Regions from separate parts of the Homo sapiens genome. Here all the other regions are linked to region 3. Evidence: promoter capture Hi-C in 16 types of primary human blood cells and fetal thymus (Javierre and others, 2016). All regions are on one chromosome and are shown on one strand. Each heading gives the region's core, a stretch centred on a gene start or on the middle of the fragment in contact. The rest is flanking DNA. Distances are from core to core; before and after follow the strand shown.

What was found. The method cuts DNA at HindIII sites, captures the fragments that hold promoters and counts their contacts. A CHiCAGO score of 5 or more calls a contact.
Region 1: the fragment with the promoter of CXCR3 here is called in contact with the fragment with the promoter of OGT in region 3 in 4 of 17 cell types (naive CD8 T cells, non-activated CD4 T cells, activated CD4 T cells and 1 more); the score reaches 10.6 in naive CD8 T cells.
Region 2: a fragment that was not itself captured here is called in contact with the fragment with the promoter of OGT in region 3 in 7 of 17 cell types (total CD8 T cells, activated CD4 T cells, total B cells and 4 more); the score reaches 7.4 in total CD8 T cells.
Region 4: a contact is called between a fragment that was not itself captured here and the fragment with the promoter of OGT in region 3, in 14 of 17 cell types (megakaryocytes, total B cells, erythroblasts and 11 more). The highest score is 13.3, in megakaryocytes.
Region 5: a contact is called between a fragment that was not itself captured here and the fragment with the promoter of OGT in region 3, in 1 of 17 cell types (naive CD8 T cells). The highest score is 6.1, in naive CD8 T cells.

What each region holds. Positions count from the first base shown.
Region 1 is chrX:71,616,642-71,620,584 of GRCh38, forward strand. CXCR3 (C-X-C motif chemokine receptor 3) reads right to left here and starts at 1,870. Exons shown (of 2, transcript NM_001504.2): 1 at 1,797-1,870; 2 at 1-818. The coding sequence starts at 1,808. The HindIII fragment of the contact is 3,713 bases long and covers 1-2,022 here.
Region 2 is chrX:71,651,903-71,656,052 of GRCh38, forward strand. No RefSeq gene overlaps it. Among named protein-coding and RNA genes, the nearest start is that of CXCR3, 35 kb to the left of the region's middle. The HindIII fragment of the contact is 6,979 bases long and covers 1-4,150 here.
Region 3 is chrX:71,530,351-71,534,358 of GRCh38, forward strand. OGT (O-linked N-acetylglucosamine (GlcNAc) transferase) reads left to right here and starts at 2,754. Exons shown (of 22, transcript NM_181672.3): 1 at 2,754-2,986. The coding sequence starts at 2,950. It also overlaps a transcript of TAF1 not described here. RefSeq lists enhancers at 1,805-3,004, 2,505-2,844, 2,670-3,328. The HindIII fragment of the contact is 929 bases long and covers 2,179-3,107 here.
Region 4 is chrX:71,437,539-71,441,601 of GRCh38, forward strand. The region is part of intron 32 of TAF1 (TATA-box binding protein associated factor 1); the gene reads left to right. It also overlaps the pseudogene LOC124905281. Among named protein-coding and RNA genes, the nearest start is that of TAF1, 73 kb to the left of the region's middle. The HindIII fragment of the contact is 3,445 bases long and covers 1-3,084 here.
Region 5 is chrX:71,633,117-71,636,768 of GRCh38, forward strand. No RefSeq gene overlaps it. Among named protein-coding and RNA genes, the nearest start is that of CXCR3, 16 kb to the left of the region's middle. The HindIII fragment of the contact is 1,319 bases long and covers 1,410-2,728 here.

The DNA.
Region 1 (3,943 bases), core at 620-3,119, 85 kb after region 3:
ACCAGCACCACCAGGTGATAGGGGGTCCAGCAGAGGGCAAAGGCCACCACGACCACCACCACCAGCCGCATGGCCCGCAGGCGCCGCTGGCCCCTGGAAACCAGCAGCACGGCCAGGATGTGGGCATAGCAGTAGGCCATGACCAGCAGGGGCAGCAGAAAGCCAGCCACCAGCTGCAGCACCCGCAGAGCCGTGCGGCCCACCTGTGGGAAGTTGTATTGGCAGTGGGTGGCGTTGAGGCGCTCGTCGTGGTGGGCCGACAGGAAGATGAAGTCTGGGAGGGCGAAAAGCAGGCAGAGCCCCCAGACAGCCAGGCAGGTGAGGGTCACGCGGGCCGGGGGCCCCCGGCGGTAGAGCTGGGTGGCATGAACTATGTTCAGGTAGCGGTCAAAGCTGATGCAGGCCAGCAGGAGGGCTCCTGCGTAGAAGTTGATGTTGAAGAGGGCACCTGCCACTTTGCAGAGGCCAGAGCCAAAGACCCACTGGACGGCAGCGTCCACTGCCCAGAGCGGCAGTGTCAGCACCAGCAGCGTGTCTGCTACAGCTAGGTGGAGCAGGAAGGTGTCGGTGCTGCTCAGGGCTGTCCGCCGGCTCAGCAGCACGGCTGCCACCGCGCCGTTGCCCAGCAGCCCCAGCAGAAAGAGGAGGCTGTAGAGGGCTGGCAGGAAGGCCCGGTCGAAGTTCAGGCTGAAGTCCTGTGGGCAGGGCGGGGAGGTACAGCACGAGTCACTCTCGTTTTCTCCATAGTCATAGGAAGAGCTGAAGTTCTCCAGGAGGGCGGCAACCTCGGCGTCATTTAGCACTTGGTGGTCACTCACCTGTGAGGGCGGGAACGGGGAGGAAGGGGCTGTGTAAAGGCCTGGCAGGAACTCTTTTGTGATTGAGTCTGATTTAGTCTGTGATTTACTCTGAGCAGCTCCTCCTATAACTGTCCCCGCCAGTCTTCCAGGGCCGTACTTCCTCAACTCCATCCGCTCAGCCTGGGCTCTGGGATAGTGACTTCCCTTCTCAAAGGCTGCTTCTCTCGCATTCTTCTGCGTGATCCCATCGGCCCAGGGACCCCTGGGCAGGAAGAAGAGCGTCCCTCCAGTGCCCAGAGCCCTCTCTGCCCACTGTCCTCTCTCTCCCTGCTCTCCCTTCAGGCTTGCCTTGCGTCCTCAGTGCCCCACCCCCAACACATAGTTCAACCACCTTCCTCCCCAGCGCCTCTCCACAATCCCCTTTTCCAGTCACTAACCCTCCTCTTCCCTCCTTGGCCCTTGTCCGGGGACCCCAACTTCCTGCGCCCCCCCCCACCGTGTGGCCTCTCTACAAGTCACCACGCCCCCCAAATGCATGCAGTCTGCCCAGTCCTTCCCCCTCCCTACACTGAGGCTTGCACGGCCATTTAGCTGCCCACAAGGGGATCCCCCACTTAGCTTGAGAAGGAATCTTCTTTATCCCCTCACCCCCAGCACTATGGACCTGCAGGTCTCCCCAGTACCAATTTAGTCCAGCACGCCAAGAGTCAAAGTTCCAAGTCTCCTGAAGGGAGCCTTCGAGTCTACTTGCCCCCCGCCCCCCCCATTTTGCAGACGAGACACCGAAGCCAGAGAGGAGAGGAGAGGCACCCAGGGTCAGTGGCCAAGCTGGGTTCCCAATTCCCCAGTGCTGTTTCTGCCACAACCCATGCGGCCTCCAGCTACTCACCCAACCCTGTGGTGACCCTGGGCTGTGGGCCAGCCCTGGCATTCCCCTGATGCCCCGGGTTTTCCACTTCGAATTCTGGCCTGGCCTGGCTGGGCAGCAGCACTTACCTCAAGGACCATGGCTGGGCTGGTGCTCTGGCTGCTGGGTGGTGTGCTGCCTGCCCCTCTGCTTTGGTGCTTGTGGTTGGAAACCTGCAGTCACAGAGGAAGTGGGAGTTTCAGGCAGTTCTCAGCAGCAGCCTCTTCCAGGGAGTTACCTCTACCAGACCTCCCTAAACCTCAGGCCACAGAGTTTCCGTGACTGGGTGAAACCTCTCTGGAGGAGCTGGCTACAAGCTTGGGACCAGAAAAGCTGGGCAGAGGATGACTGGCTGGGGGCAGGTCCTTTGAGAAGAGAGGTCTGAAGAGGAAGCAATGCAGCTGAGAAGTGAAGGGCAACCCTACTGCCTGCACTGGTAGGGTCAGTGCTCCATAGATTGGAACTCATCTGTCCTGGCCTTGAGTTGATCTTTGCATGATTGTAAAGGCTGGGTAGAGAAATAAGTCTGCAGAGGAGATCCACCTTCTTAAAAATTTCAGCTAGGTGCAGTGGCTCATTCCTGTAATCCCAGCTACTGGGGAGGCTGAGGCAAGAGGATCACTTAAGGCCAAGAGTTTGAGACCAGCCTGGGCAGCATAGCGAGGCTCCATCTCTACCAAAAATAAAAAAAGCCAGCCGGGCATGGTGGCATGTGCCTGTAGTCCTAACTACTTGGAAGCCTGAGACAGGAGGATTGCTTGAGCCCGGGAGTTCAAGTCTGCCTTGAGATATAATTGTACCACTGCACTCCAGCCTGGTGACAGAGTGAGGCCCTGTCTCTTAAAAAGGGAATTAAAATATTTTTTTAAAAAGCCGTTACACTAAATCTAGCTTTTTACCACCACCTCTCCCTGCTAATCAGTGGGGAAAAAGAAAGGGAACTACCAGTAATGAACTTGCTATGTGATAGACATTGCTTTAGGTGCTTTCTCCGACACTGCCTTATTTCAACCACACAACTCACTTGTGACGTGCGGGGTTATCTGCATGGATGATTCAGAAAGGGGACAGGCCTTCGCCAGACACGGCAATTAAAGGTGGGCGTGAGGATTGATCCCACGGCTGTCTGATTCTCCTTTTCCTACTCATGAACACTGTCTTCAGTTTCTTTTAAGTGAATAAGCTATGATATATTCATGCAGTTAAAAACAAATGAACTAAAGCTACACATTTGAACATGGATGCATCTAGAAAAGCCAACGATCACATGGTAGAAGAAGCAAGTTACAGAATGCCATGTATAGTTTGATGCCACTTACATAAACTCTAAAAACCACCACAAAATCAATACCATGTTGTTTTGGATAACACTGTTGGTTCTCGAGGTTTAAAACAGGGACAGGAGATACCACAAATTCATAAAAGCAGTTGCTTCTCGGGCAAGAAGGAGGATGGGGTTGGGGAGGAGGCCATAGGAACTTCTTGATCTTAAGGAAAAGCTGTAAGGCAGCCTTGGTACAGCACATCAGTCACTTTATGGCAGAGAATGGTGAACAATTCCTCTCCCCACCTGCCCTCAGCTCTCCCCTTTGCCCTCTTCTCCCCTCCCTGTCGCCCTCTTCTCATTACCAGTGGGCAAGGCTGCCCGTAATTTGCTTCTCCCAAGCAGTTTCCTCTTTCTCTCTCTCCCCTAGTTGGAAAGCAGGGGTGGAGGGAGAGAGAGAAAGAAGAGAGAAGAGAGAAGAGAGAGAGAGAGAAAAGCAAGTGCTAGCCCATGGTCTTGGGGCCAGTTTTCAGCCAGACTGCCCCACCAAAGCCTCCAGGCTAGGGCCTGGAATTAAATTTACACCCACATGAGGCATACTTGCAAGGCATCAAGGCCCTTCCCCTCCTGTGGACAGATGTGACTCTCCTTGCTCTAAACAGCTTGTCACCTGCAGGGTTCAGGCCAGAGGGAACTGAGGGCCTGGCAGAGGTCAGGAGCAGTGCCAGTGGAGGGAGCAGGAAGGATTCCAGAAACCAGGCCAGTTAGGATGAGCAGGACTTGGCCAGTAGCTACCTATGGGGGTGGAAAAGGGTTGGGAGCTGGGACCACAGTCTCCCAGTGCTGACCTGTGAAGAGGTTTGAGTTCCATGGGCTTCTGCAAATGAGAAAATTGACCATGGAAAGCCACATTTGTTCCATTTAAAGGTCTGTCTTATATTCAGCAATCATGTTATTTGTCCCCTTTTTTTG
Region 2 (4,150 bases), core at 416-2,915, 120 kb after region 3:
CAGGCTCAAGCGATCCTCCCACCTCAGCCCCACAAGTGGCTGGGACTACAGGCATGTGGCACCACACCTGTCTAATTTTTTTGTATTTTTCATAGAGACAGGGTTTTGCCATGTTGGCCAGGCTGGTCTTGAACTCCTGAGCTCAAGCGATCTGCCCGCCTTGGCCTCCCAGACAGGCATGAGCCACTGAGCCTGGCCCCAGAGAATAGTTTTTATTTCATTTCATCAATTGATGAAATAAATAATCCCAACATTCGTCCTACTTGACCCTATTAATGCCATAAACCAGTGTGGAGCCTTCACTCAAGCCACCCTCAGGGAGTACAAGGCTAGAAACAAAAGCAGGGGAAACTCATCCTGGGATGGAGGTTGACTTTTTAGGAAAATGCCTCTGGCTTTATTCACAACAATAAGGCCCCAAAGGGCTGCACAGTCCAGCCTGCTATCTCTCTGTTTGTCAGGGCCCCGTGCTTTGTGTAGCACATCAGTGGTCTTAGTTGGGCCTGAGGAGAAGAAACAGGAAGAAAAGAGTTGCTGGGGAAAGCAGCTGGCAAGGTTGGCGTTAGGATGGAAGTGCCAAACAGGCAAAGGAGATGCAGCCCATCAGAAGGATTGCCAACACTGCTTCCATTTTAATTGGCACAAATGGCCCTTTCAATCCCAGCAGCTAACAGTAGAGAAGAGGAGAAACTCAAAAGGCATGAGATCACTAGCTGCCTCCACTTGCATCCCAGCAAACAGCTTAAAACGGCACTGCCCTCACCTGGTCAAATTCATGTATTACATTGAAGGCACATGTTTTTAGATTTTTTTTTTGGTCATTTCTTTTTCTCCAGTTCTTGGTCCTCCACCTCTGAGAATAAGTGGATGGGGAGGTGACAAATCTCCCCTGAGAAAATGTACCAAGTGCATGGGATTCCAGCACAAAGTCACAAACTGTGAATGAAAACTTACCACCCAAATATAAAATACTTACCAAAACATCGAAATTAATATCCCAATTATGTAAGCATCACTCCTATGATGTTTAGTGAAATCTATGAGAATATGAAAATAAAACTATTTTTATCAATAAACTGATATTACTACTCTCAAAGAGATCTGCTATAAATAGAGAAAATAATTTTGGTTATCCTTCTGGTTATAAAATACTTGACTGTTTAATGCAATGTTACTTCCCTTACCACTATTTTTTCTCTGCTTATGGCAGTAAGTAACATACAGAAAGAAAACATCACAATCTATGTGCGTAGTTTAATAAATAATTATCAAGTGCACCTGTATGGGAACTCCACTAGGCAGTCCCCCAGTAGGGACTCTGTGTGGTGGCTCCGACTCCACATTTCCCTTCTGCACTGCCCTAGCAGAGGTTCTCCACAATGCTCCCCCTGCAGCAAACTTTTGCCTGAGCATCCAGGCGTTTCCATACATCTTCTGAAATCTAGGCAGAGGTTCCCAAACCTCAATTCTTGACTTCTGTGTAGCCGCAGGCTCAATACCTCATGGAAGCTGCCAAGACTTGGGGCTTCCACCTTCTAAGGCCACAGCTTGAGCTCTGCATTGGCCCCTTTCAGCCATGGCTGGAGTGGCTGGGCACCAAGTTCCTAGGCTGCACACTGCATGGGAACCCTGGGCCCAGCCCACAAAACCACTTTTTCCTCTTGGGCCCCTGGGCCTGTGATGGGAGGGGCTGCCTTGAAGTTCTCTGACATGGCCTGGAGACATTTTCCCCAGGGTCTTGGGGATTAACATTAGTCTCCTTGCTCTTTATGCAAATTTCTGCAGCCGGCTTGAATTTCTCCTCAAAAAAAGGAGTTTTTCTTTTCTACTTAACTGTCAGGCTGCAAATTTTCTGAACTTTTATGCTGTTTCTCTTTTATTTGTTTATTTATTTATTTTTATTATACTTTAAGTTCTAGGGTACATGTGCACAACATACAGGTTTGTTACATATATATACATGTGCCATGTTGGTGTGCTACACCCATTAACTCATCATTTACATTAGTTATATCTCCTAATGCTATGCCTCCCCCCTTCCCCCACCCCAAGACAGGCCCTGGTGTGTGATGTTCCCCACCCTGTATTCAAGTGTTCTCATTTTTCAATTCCCACCTATGGGTGAGAACATGTGGTGTTTGGTTTTCTGTCCTTACTATAGTTTGCTCAGAATGATGGTTTCCAGCTTCATCCATGTCTCTACAAAGGACATGAATGCATCCTTTTTTATGGCTACATAGTATTCCATGGTGTATATGTGCCACATTTCCTTAATCCAGTCTATCATTGATGGACACTTGGGTTGGTTCCAAGTCTTTGTTATTGTGAATAGTGCCGTAATAAACATATGTCAGCATGTGTCTTTATAGAAGCATGATTTATAATCCTTTGGATATATACCCAGTAATGGGATGGCTGGGTCAAATGGTATTTCTAGTTCTAGATCCCTGAGGAATCGCCACACTGTCTTCCACATGTTTGAACTAGTTTACAGTCTCACCAACAGCATAAAAGTGTTCCTATTTCTCCACATCCTCTCCAGCACCTGTTGCTTCCTGACTTTTTAATGATTGCCATTCTGACTGGTGTGAGATGGTATCTCATTGTAGTTTTGATTTGCATTTCTCTGATGGCCAGTGATGATGAGCATTTTTTCATGTGTCTGTTAGCTGCATAAATGTCTTCTTTTGAGAAGTGACTGTTCATATCCTTCACCCAGTTTTTGATGGGGTTTTTTGATTTTTTCTTGTAAATTTGTTTAAGTTCTTTGTAGATTGTGGATATTAGCCCTTTATCAGATGGGTAGATTGTAAAAATTTTCTCACATTCTGTAGGTTGCCTGTTCACTCTGATGGTAGTTTCTTTTGCTGTGCAGAAGCTCTTTAGTTTAATTAGATACCATTTGTCAATTTTGGCTTTTATTGCCATTGCTTTTGGTGTTTTAGTCGTGAAGTCCTCACCCATGCCTATGTCCTGAATGGTATTACCTAGGTTTTCTTCTAGGGTTTTTATCGTTTTTGGTCTAATATTTAAGTCTTTAATCCATCTTGAATTAATTTTTGTATAAGGTGTAAGCAAGGGATCCAGTTTCAGCTTTCTCCATATGGCTAGCCAGTTTTCCCAGCACTATTTATTAAATAGGGAATCCTTTCCCCATTTCTTGTTTTTGTCAGGTTTGTTAAAGATCAAATTGTTGTAGATGTGTGGTATTATTTCTGAAGGCTCTGTTCTGTTCCATTGGTCTGTATCTCTGTTTTGGTACCAGTACCATGCTGTTTTGGTTACTGTAGCCTTGTAGTATAGTTTGAAGTCAGGTAGTGTGATGTCTCCAGCTTTGTTCTTTTGGCTTAGGATTGTCTTGGCAATGTGGGCTCTTTTTTGGTTCCATATGAACTTTAAAATAGTTTTTTCCAATTCTGTGAAGTCATTGGTAGCTTGATGGGGATGGCATTGAATCTATAAATTACCTTGGGCAGTATGGCCATTTTCACGATATCGATTCTTCCTATCCATGAGCATGGAATGTTCTTCCATTTGTTTGTATCCTCTTTTATTTCATTGAGCAGTGGTTTGTAGTTCTCCTTGAAGAGATCCTTCACATCCCTTGTAAGTTGGATTCCTAGGTATTTTATTCTCTTTGAAGCAATTGTGAATGGGAATTCACTCATGATTTGGCTCTCTGTGTGTTCTTGGTGTATAGAAATGCTTGTAATTTTTGCACATTGATTTTGTGTCCTGAGACTTTGCTGAAGTTGCTTATGAGCATAAGGAGATTTTGGGCTCAGACGATGGGGTTTTCTAAATATACAGTCATGTCATCTGCAAACAGGGACAATTTGACTTCCTCTTTTCCTAACTGAATGCCCTTTATTTCTTTCTCCTGCCTGATTGCCCTGGCCAGAACTTCCAACACTATGTTGAATAGGAGTGGTGAGAGAGGGCATCCCTGTCTTGTGCCAGTTTTCAAAGGGAATGCTTCAAGTTGCTGTTTCCCTTTTAAAACTGAATGCTTTTAACAGCACGCAAGTCACCTTTTGAATCCTTTGCTGCTTAGAAGTTTCTTCCACCAGATACCCTAAATCATCTCTCTCAAGTTCAAAGTTCCACAAATCTTTAGGGCAGGGGCAAAATGCTGCCAGTCTCTTTGCTA
Region 3 (4,008 bases), core at 1,504-4,003:
TTTGGTGGGTTCCTGGTCTCGCTGACTTCAAGAATGAAGCCACGGACCTTCACGGTGAGTGTTACAGCTCTTAAAGGTGGCACGGACTCAAAGAGTGAGCAGCAGCAAGATTCATTGTGAAGACGGAAAGAACACAGCTTCCACGGTGTGGAAAGAGACCCGAGTGGGTTGCTACTACTGGCCTGGTGGGTGGGTGGGTGGGTGGGTGCGGAATGTGGCCAGCTTTTATTCCCTTATTTGTCCCCACCCATGTCCTGCTGATTGGTCCATTTTACAGAGTGCTGATTGGTCCATTTTACAAGGTGCTAATTGGTCCATTTTACAGAGCGCTGATTGGTCCATTTTACAGACTGCTGATTGGTCCATTTTACAAACCTCTAGCTAGCCACAGAGCACTGATTGGTGTGTTTTTACAGAGCACTGATTGGCGCATTTTACAAACCTCTAGCTAGCCACAGAGCGCTGATTGGTGCGTTTTACAATCCTAGCTACAGAGTGCTGATTGGTGCATTTTACAATCCTCTTGTAAGACAGAAAAGTTCTTTAAGTCCCCACCCAACCCAGGAAGTCCAGCTGGCTTCTCCTCTCACATCTATGTATTTCTTTGGCTTCATTTAACCTTTGGAGCCATTTTTTTTCAGCAGCAGTGCAACAGCAGCCACCAGCCCGGGTCTCATCCAGCGCTGGTGCTACTGCTGTGAAATGTGTGTTGTTCTGAGCAGCTGTATTTGTGATACTTTGTTACACAGCAGCAAAAAAAGTAATGCAACATCAGTGGTGTTACTGGGTGACAAAGTTTGGGATTGGGGTTGAAGACCCAGCTGATTTAATTATAATTGGTTCTAAATTTAAAATTGCACATAAAAAAAACCCAGAAATCAATGTGAACAACAATAAAAAACATACAAAAGCACTTCCTTCAATGTCTAGATCAAGGCTTCTTTCTCACCCCCTCCAACCTTACCTGTTTCCTCCCTAGATATTCATAGAGAGTAATATATTTTATCATCTAAATAGTCTTCTGTATTGCTCTCTAGTAGCTTTTTGTGTCTACCTAACTAGGCTTCAGATTCCTTGAGGGCGAGGATTTCTGTTCATTTTTGTGCCCCCCACAGTGCCTTGCACATAGAGACTCTAGTAAATGTTACTTATTGGCTGAAGAATTAGGAACATGACCTGCATTTAACAACAAAAAGAGTTTTTGTTAATTAGCTAGCACCCGCTCATCAGCAAGGCCTAAACATCTGCCAGTGGAATCTGAGAAGTCTCTTCTAAAAGTTGAAAAGCTGAGTTTACTCATTACAGATAGGGAACTTGTAGTAGGTGTGTGTGTGCGGGGGGGAGGTTTTACCAGTTAAATCAAATTACAAGAGGTTGGTGCTCAATTTTCAGGAGAGTTTGTGTAGTGATTTTTGTCTTTTTCACTGCATGATGTGACTCTTGATTATGGGATGGAAGAAATTAGCATTATGAATTTTCTCTGTGCCATTTCCATAATTAATTGTTTGTTGACTGTTTTGAAGAAATTTAAGCAGAATTTGAGGACTTAGTTTTAAAAAATGTAGTGAAGGGGCTAGGTAGCAAAAACTTTTTGAAGAAATTCATTGACCTGCTTTCTTAGATCAAGGACTTTTTGAAATAAAAAGGCTCTCAGAGATCCAACTTGTAGCCTCCAGTGGCTTGTAATACTTTCTTGCTGATGTGGCAAGCTACCTTAAGTCGTTTCTAGAACAAGAGGTGAAGTATAAATACCAATGTGACAAAATGTCTGAACAGTAGACTTGAAACTGCAGGAAGATCGTAAGAACCGATTTGTTCAAGGAAGTAGAGGCAATTCATGACTCAATCTAGACGTGTGGTTTAGGCAGATGGCAAGTGAATTCATTTATCATTGTTGATCTGCTTTGAGCTCAGTGGAATCGCCGACTGTGACAATGTGCAGAGCTAGCTGGTGGAAATGAAGTCACAACTCGAGGAGAGTCATGGATTTTGACGAACGTGAATCACCTTTAACATTTTTATGGCTGCCTTCGGAGTGCAAACGCCCAGCATGTCCCTGAGTTATTAAACATTTGCCCTATCACCGTGGGCAGGAGTATTCTGAATACCAAAACGATTTTGAAATTTCAGGCTATACGGCCAACATTGAAGGTGTCTGCATTCAACTGGCCCTGTGAAAGCTTCAGTCTTTTTCATCGAAGTGCTGAAATCGATGGCCGAGTCACAATGAAGACGGGCTCAAATCGGAACCCTCTCGCTCCTCGTTTTGAGCAGCTGTCTTTGAGAGGCAATCTTCTGAATTGACTGGCTCAGAATTGATCCGTGAGAGTCGTAACCATCCGTTTTTGTACGAATACAGTTGATAAACTTTTTTAGACGCCTTTGGCATTTATGTTTAAAACGACACCACCTGCTAAGTAACAAACACTCTTCTTAATCGCGGTGGCAAAAACGTATCCGTCCCGTGTGTGTTTGTTTTTACCCTTCCGCTACACTCTTAAGAAACTTGGCCGCTTCCGCCCCAGAGAGTGCCCTAACCACGAGTCGGGTTGACAGGGCTGCTCGCATGCGCGGTCTCCACCGTGGTGTTTGTCGCAATGGGCGCTGCGCGGAGGACTACATGGAATCTCGACTTTGCAGCTTGAAGTCATTTTGTTGGCGGCGCTGGTTACCGGCTACCTCCGCGCGGGCACTTGATTGTAACAGAAAGTAGTTCCGGCCCATGTTGTTTCGGCCGAGGAGCCGTCGCCGCCATTTCAAGACCGTACTAGGTAGATGGTCAATTAGAGTTCCCAGGGTTTGAAGCCTGTAACTGCTGCCGCCGCTCAAGCCCTCCAGAGCATTGCTACGGCTGCTGCCCTTGTACTACTACCTCCAAATACGTTCTTGCTGGTAGTGGCGGCAGCAGGACCAATTACCTCTTTTTTGCTCTCCCTCGAGAAGCTCCAGATGGCGTCTTCCGTGGGCAACGTGGCCGACAGCACAGGTACCGGTGTCCCGTTCTACCTTGGCAGATGCCCCCTTGGGGTCTCGCGCCGTCCTCTACCTTGTATCACTCCTTCCCTCCCTTCCCTCGAACCATCCCCATTACATCAGTGACATTGCTAAGCTTTTCGTGGTCTACTGGCATCTGATCACATCGGGTTTTCCGCTGTTGTCCGCTTCCCGAACATTTCCTCCTCCTCCCTTGCTTGCTTTTTGCTGCCTTTCTTGCTTTGTTTTTATTTCGTAAATGTTCTAGCATTCCACTCTCTCCAGGCGCTTTTATCACACGTGCGCGCTTAGAATGTCGTGGAATGGACTGCATTGGAATCCCTGCCCTTTCACTCCTTTGCAGCGGTTTTCTCCCCTAATTCCAGCTCATCGCCTCTCCTTTTTCCCCTCCATCTCCTCCTTCATCTCCCCCCCCAGTCTTTTCCCCTTAGCCAGATTTGGTCCTTCTCTGCCAATCTAGGGCGGGGGTGCCGTTCCGATGTAATCATATCCTCACTTTGCATCACCCGAGGACGATCAAAAGCTCGTCGATGGTGCCACAAGTCACCTCGAGAAGAGGGGACATTGAGCAGCACCCTGCTAGGCAGTGCCTTTCTGGTGTTCTTTCGGTTGAGCGGTCCCGGTTTAGATTGGAAATTTCCAGGGGTTTCCTTTGCCATCGCCCAATTCCACCGCTGCCCTCAGCCTGGATTTCCCACCCTGTCCGCGGGGAACCACACCCTTCCCTTCGCGAGGTTGCCAGCCCTGTTCACTTCCTATCCTTGGGGGAGAAACCACCCCGATGCTGCTGCTTTGGCGTTGACCACCCTGCCCGCCCAATTCTCGCTTTGTGTTACTTTCTCGATGTATTCCTCCGCCGCCGCCTCTGGGTCTGCCATCCCCATTCTTCAGCCCAGTATCTCTTTATTCACAGGGTGTAATATTCTTTTAAGTTTCCATCCCTGCTTGAAGAGTTTGTAAAGCAACTGGAGTGTAGCTGCACAAGTACAAGGCGGTTGCCCTTTTAGACACTTC
Region 4 (4,063 bases), core at 112-2,611, 94 kb before region 3:
TCTCTACTAAAAATACAAAAATTAGCCGGGACTGGTGCTGGTGACATGCACCTGGAGCTGAGATCGTGCCACTGTACCCCAGCCTGGGCGACAGAATGAGACTCTGTCTCCAAAAAAAAAAAAAAGAAAAAGAGAAATATTTCCATATGAAAGTTAAGTCCTTCATGTCATTGAAGAGAAGAAAAACTTCCCCCGATCCTGCTTGGGTCTCTTGCTGCCATCTTGTCTCTTTCTCTTTCCATACAGACTTTTTTATTATGGAAAATATACATAATATAAAAATTTGTCATTTTAACTTTTTTTTTTTTTTTTTTTGAGACGGAGTCTCATTCTGTTTCCTAGGCTGGAGTGCAGTGGCGCGATCTTGGCTTACTGCAACCTCCGCTTCCTGGATTCAAACGTTTCTCCTGCCTCAGCCTCCAGAGTAGCTGGGATTACAGGCGTGCACCACCACGCCCGGGTAATTTTTGTATTTTTAGTAGAGACGGGGTTTCACCAAGTTGGCCAGGTTGGTCTCAAACTCCTGACCTCAGGTGATCCACCTCCCCTCAGCCTTCCAAAGTGCTGGGATTACAGGTATGAGCCATCATGCCCAGCCGTCATTTTAACTATTTTTAAGTGTACAAATCAGTGGCATTAAGTTCAATCACAGTGTAGTGCAACCATTACCACTGTGTATTTCCAGAACTTTCTTATTATTCCAAACAGAAACTCTATACCCCTTACATGGTAACTCCCCTTCTTCCCAGCTCCTGGTAACCTCTATTCTAGTTTCTATCTCTATGAAATTGCCTATTCTAGGTATGTCATATAAGTAAATCATACATTATATACAATATTCTTCCTTTTGTGTCTGGTTTGTTTTACTTACCATGTTTTCAAGGTTCATCCATGTTGTAGCATGTATCAGAGTTTCATTCTTTTTTATGACAGCCAGACTTCTTTTATGAATATGTAACGTCTCTCACTATTTTCTTTGTCTTCCAGTAATGCCTCGCTTAGCTTTAAGCTGGCTTCCACCCTGTCCAGTCTACCAAGTAAACAGGATCACATAATTATCAGATATAGTGGGCACTTTTCTGTCCTTATCTTGACCTCACCCTAGTATTTGACATCATTGACCATTCTTTCCTCACAACAGTATTGTGATTGGCTTCCATGACAATTTTTAGCTCTGGCCGGGGGAGGCCGAGATGGGTGGATCACCTGAGGTCAGGAGTTCGAGAGCAGCCTGGCCAACATGGTGAAACCCCGTCTTCACTAAAAATACAAAAAAATTAGCCAGGCGTGGTGGCACGTGGTATGAGAATGCACTCAGCGTTCTTGGGAGGCTGAGGCAGGAGAATCACTTGAACCTGGGAGGCAGAGGTTGCAGTGAGCCAAGATCATGACACGGCACTTCAGCCTGGGTGACAGAGCAAGACTCCAAAAATAAAAAAGCCCTTATTTTCCTCCCACCTCTTAAACTATTCCTTTTTAATCTCCTTTGCTGAATGTTCTGCCCACTCCTGTAACTTCAGTTGCCACCTCTTTTCCTGATGACTCTATTGTAGACAAAGCCACTTGCCAAACATTTCCTCTTGGATGTCTCAATGGAACTTAAAACATACCTCAAGCTGAATGTATTATTGTTTCCTCCTATCCTTCCTTATTCCAACTTTCTCCCTCTCTCCTTCTTTACTTGAATCACTCATTTACAATTTCCAATCTGGGTTTAATGGGGCATTAACATTACCCAGTAGCTACGTCTAGGAAACTCTTTTTTTTTAATTCTTCACTTTGAATAAGTTCCAACATCCAGTATGTCACTAAAGTTCACATTACATTTTGCCTAGTCGCCTGGTGAATGTCCCAGCCTTTACATTTATCTCCTTCTAACCTATCATCTACATTTCTGTCAGGTAGACCTTTTAAAAAACAAAAAAGCAAAATCTCTTATAAAAAGATCAAATAATCTAGAAATACATAAAATTAAAAGTTAAAGCCTCTGCCTGCCCTCCCACTCCTGTCTCCCATATTTTCATTTCCCCAGAGATAACAGCTTGGTCTATAGTCTTAGGTACTTTTTTCTATGCTTAGACAAAACGTGTTTACTTATTACGCTGCTCTCAGCACACTGCCTATAGGGTAGCCCTGTTCCGCAAGAGCAGTCAAAAAGAAAATTACATGTAGGTTTTCAAGTTTTTGTTTTATTCTGTAATTTGCTCTTTTTTGCTCATGAATGTATTCTGATCCTTTTTATTTTGAGATAATTATAGATTCAGGAAGTTGCAAGAAATGGTACAGAGTCCTGTGGGCTTCTCACTCAGCTTCCTTCAATGGCAATATCTTACATAGCTGTACTTCAGTATCAAAACCAGGAAATTTATATTGGTACATTACTTTTAAATAAATTACAAAACTTAGTTTTCACCATTTTAAAAATCTATTCATTTGTGCATAAGTGTGTGCAATTTCGTGCCATATATATGTTCCTGTAACCACCACCACAATCAAGACTTAGAACTGTTACCATAAAGGAACTCCCTGTTCTTTGTATCTGCACCCCCCACACACACATGCCCACCACCACACCCACCACTGTTCCTGTTCCACTTATCCGTTCTCCATCTCTATAGTTTTGACATTTGAGCATGTTATATAAATGGAATAGTATAATATGTAACCATTTGAGATTGACTTTTTTCGCAAAGCATAATTCCCTTGAGGTCCATCTAAATTGTTGTATCAGTAGTTCATTTTTTAAATTGTTGAGTGTTCCATTGTGTGGTTGTACCAGCGTTTGTTCAAACATTTACTCATTGAAGGACATTCAGATTTTCACTATTTTGCCATTGTGAGTAAAGCTGCTGTGAGCAATCATAGACAGGGTTTTGGATGAGTTTAATTTTTCATTTCTTTGGGATAAATGCCCAAGAATAGAATGGTATATGTTTAGTTTTACAAGACACGGCACTATTTCATTTTTTTTTTTTCCACATCAGATGTGGAAAAAAAATGTACTGGCATTGTAATAAGGCTTGAGGGAGGCACATCTCACACATGAACGTGAAAACCCAATGTCGTCACACTTACGTCATCATAAGCTTATGAACTACAAAAAGATTGTGCCACACTTTTGGAGTGTCTGTACCATTTTACATTCCCACCAGCAATGTATGTGATCCAGTTTCTCTGCAGCATTCACTGTTACCACTTTTTAAAATTTTAGCTGTTCTTCTATTGTGATTTTACTTGGCATTTTTCTTTTTTTAAATTAAAAACATTTTCTTGCTCTCGGTCTTAAAATTATTTCCTCAAATACATTGTGTTTTTCTAATGGCTAATGATGTTGGGCATCTTTTCATGTGCCATCTGTGTCTTCTCCTCCTCCCTTCTTCTTTCTCCTTCTTTCTCCCTTCTTCCTTCTTTCTTCTTCTTCTTGTTATCTTTGCTCACTGCAACCTCCCCTTCCTGGGTTCAAGCAATTCTTGTGCCTCAGCCTCCTGAGTAGCAGGGATTACAGGCACGCAACATCATGCCCGGCTAATTTTTGTATTTTTAATAGAGACAGGGTTTCATGATGTTGGCCAGGTTGGTCTCGAACTCCTGGCTTCAAGTGATCCTCCCACCTCAGCCTCCCAAAGCCATGGTGCCAAGCCCCATCTGTATATTTTCTTTGGTGAAGTGACTGTTCATTTCTTTGGCCCAGTTTTTTTTTTATTTTTTATTTTTATTGTTTGGAATTCAGTGCAAATTTTATTAGACTACAAAAACATATCATAGTTATTTTAGATATATTTATATGAAGTCATAAAAGCTATGATTTTTGAAAAACAGCATAAGAAATTTTTTTAATTTCTTATATAAATTAACTTTAGTGTCTTAAGGATTCAATGATACAGTTTTTAAATTTTTTAAATTGATAGCAATTGTACATATTCTTGAGGGCACATAATTATATTTCCATACATATAATTTATAGTTATCAGATCAGGGTAATTAGCACGTCCACCATCTCAAATGTTTATCATTTTTTTGTGTTGAGAATGTGCAACATCCTTCTAGCTATTTGAAACTATAT
Region 5 (3,652 bases), core at 819-3,318, 100 kb after region 3:
GAGAATTTCAAAACAGCTGTTTAATATCATCTTTAAGAGTAGTAACAAGTTTCATAACGTTGACATCAATGATTAACCCTCTTGACCTTCTCGGTGAGATAATAATGAATGTGAAAGGTCCAGGAGCACTGGCTGTGCTGGGGAGAAAGTCTCAGCAAGCATGAGGGGCAGTGAAAAGCACAAGAGAAAAAGGGTCCCTGGAGCCGCTGATGTTCCACAGCCTTGGCCCCTACATGGAGACTACAGGACCAGGGGCGGCGGAGACGTAGAGGACTAGCAAGAGCTGCCAGGAGTTGCCTGGAGGAAAGAGATGTTTTTCATTGTTGTTGTTTGTTAGTTTCTGTTTTTGTTTTTTTAAAAGGGAAGCCCCTGGTTTAGGCCCAGTGGTCAGTGTCTACTCCCTTCTGCCCCAGGGGGATTGGGATAACCCTGTCATGACTGCTGAGGCTGGAGGCGAGGGACTGCAGTATCTCTCCTCTGGCTCTCTGCAAGAGAAGTTGACCTTTAGGATGGGCCAGTGCTTTTGGTGCCAAAGTATTAAATGTACATGTGAGGTTCAAGCTAACTGGTATGAGGCCTCATGAAGGATTTACTTCCACCCTTTTGAGGTTGGCACTTCCATAAAGGAATGCTCCTTTCTTTCTCTAGTGGGTCCTGTGCAGGGCCTAGCTCCCTCAGCCTCCCAGCTCCCTGGGGAGAGAAACAAGGCAGATTTTTTTTTCTCACTTTTTATTGTGAGGCTGGGGCCAGAGTCTGCGTTGCACATGTTTGTGTCTGAAATGAGGAAAGCTCAGGCCCTGCCTCTCGTGGCCACATGAGTGAAGAGGCTGACTAGGAGACAGAGAATCTGGTAAGACCCAGAGCCCGGTGTGGTGGCACACGCCTGTAGTCCCAGGTACTCGGGAGGCTGAGACGGGAGGATCACTTGAGCCCAGGAATTTGAGACCAGCCAGGGCAACACAGTGGGAGCCCATCTTTATAAGAAAAAAAAATTTAAATTAGCCAGGTGTGGTGGTGTGTGCTTGTAGTCTCAGCTACTTGGGAGGCTGAGGCAGGAGAATCACTTGAGCCCAGGAGTTCGAAACTATAGCGAGCCATGATTGTGCCGCTGTACTCTAGCCTGGGTGACAGACTGAGACCCTGGTTCTTAAAAAAAAAAAGACCCAGATTTGTCAGGCCAAGCCAGACTAGGCTATGCTGTGAAACAAAAAGTACCAAACCTCAGAGCGTTAATCAAACAGAACTTTATTTTTTATTCACATTAAATGTACAACACAGGTTAGCGAAGGCTTGGCTTACTGTAGTCATCCAGGGACCCAGGCGCTGACAGTGGCCCCATCTTGGCACATTCTTTCATGCTCACTGCAGCAGTGGGATGAGAACGAGATGAATTGTACACTGTGTCTTAAAGCTTCATTGGCAAAGGCAAGCCACATGTCCACACCTAACTCTAAAGAGATTCCCTGGGACGTGCAATCCCGCCACAGGCCTGGAAGGAGGACCTATTTGTAGATCCAGCAGCTGTCAACACTCATCTCTAGTCAAGACTTGGCTTTTACATGGCTTAGAGGGAAAGGGGAGACATGGATTTCTACAAGCCCACGAGGCCAGGGCCAGAGGCAGACCATGTGTCCTAACCCCATCCTCCACCACCCTAAGGTGTGGGAGAAAACAGGATACCAGCCATGCTCAGGGCTACCTTCAAGCCCCAGAATGGAAACAGTTACACTGAAAATCATAAGAAGAAATTAAAAACCATGATTTCCTTTTGTAGCTTGTATTTATTTCCTACTGCTGCTATAAAAAATTATGACAAATTTAGTGGCTTCAAACAATACAAATTTATTACCTTATAGTTCTAGAAGTCAGAAGTCTGAGATGCGGGCTGGGTGCAGTGGCTCAAGCCTGTAATCCCAGCACTTTGGGAGGCTGAGGCGGGCGGATCACCTGAGGTCAGAAGTTCGAGACCAGCCTGGCCAACATGGTGAAACAAATAATATTTTTAGTCTCTACTAAAAATAAAAATAAAAAATTAGCCAGGCGTGGTGGCATGCACCTGTAGTCCCAGTTACTGGGGAGGCTGAGGCAGGAGAATTGCTTGAACCCAGGACGCGGAGGTTGCAGTGAGCCAAGATCCTGCCATTGCACTCTAGCCTGGGTGACAAGAGTGAAAATCTGACTCAAAAAAAAAAAAAAAAAAAGCCTGAGATGCGTCTCACTGGACTAAAATCAAAGTGTTGGCAGGCTTGGTGTTTCTTCTAGAGGCTCTAGGGAAGAGTCTATTTCCTTGCGTTTTCCAACTTCTGGATGCCTTGGCCCATGGCCCCTTCCCCCATCTTAAAACCTGGTAACGTCAGGCCAAGTCCTTCTCACACTGCCATCTGTCTGGTTCGTTCATTCTGCCTCCCTCTTCTACTTATAGGGATGCTGAGATTACACTGGGCCTACCTGGATAATCCAAGAGAATATCCCTGTCACAAGTGTGCTGATTGGCAACCTTAATTTTATCTGCAATCTTCATTCCCCTTCGACATGTAATCTCACACACACACAGGTTCTGGGTTAGGATGTGGATGTAGATATCTTTGGTAGTTGGGGAATTATTCTGCCTACCACAGAGGCCTAGGAAGAAAAGGGTCGTTATCCTAGGAGGAAAAGTGGCAATGTCCCCTGGGAGATTTCCTGTGAAAACATGATGTTGGGCTACACCCCCCACTTAAGTATTTTAAGCTTGGTTTTTTCTTTTTGTGGAGACCGGGTTTCACTATGTTGCCCAGGCTGGTCTCGATCCTCCCACCTTGGCCTCCCAAAGTGCTGGGACTACATGCATGAGCCTCTGTGCCCGGCCTAAGTATTTTAACATTAGATTGGATGTTGGCTTTTTATTTTATTTTATTATTATTATTTTTTCCAAGACAGAGTCTCGCTCTGTCACCCAAGCTGGAGTGCAGTGGTGCAATTTGGGCTCACTGCAACCTCTGCCTCCCTGGCTTCAAGCGATTCTCCTGCCTCAGCCTCCCAAGTAACTGGGACTACAGGCACGTGCCACCACATCCGGCTAATTTTTTTGTATTTTTAGTAGACAATCAGTTTATCCCTTTAGGTGCCATAGGCTGAAGCCTGTATCTTCCCTCCTTGTGTTTCCCTCTTTCTCCCCACACCTTATCAAAATGAAGCCAGCTATGTGCTTTATTGCCTCAGGAGAGGTATACAGCCTGGGTAGAAGGAGAAGAGGGAGGAGAGAGAGAGCTGTGGGTCCCCGGGCCCTGCTTCCTAGTAACACTCTGAGGAGCTGGTAATTCCCCAAAGAGGAGTGGTCCCTTGGTGTGTGCAGGGAGATGCACCGGAAACTGCAGGCCTTCCAGCTGCCTGGCAGATTTCCTCAGCCACAGAAGCAGCAATGAACAGGGTAGAATGAATGGCTTAGCAGAAACTTACAGACAACAAGACCCTCTACCCCTCTGCCCCTAGATGTCTGATACCGTGAAAGGTCCCAAGACCTCTTCTTGACATCAGGGAAGCAGGAAATGTGAGGATGACTCAGGGTGAATTTCCCAGACTCTGCCAAGACGGAGTGCAGAATTGAAATTAGATTGATATAGAAAAACAATAAAGAGAGGCAATGTTTCTTGTATACCTAGATTTATAGTCT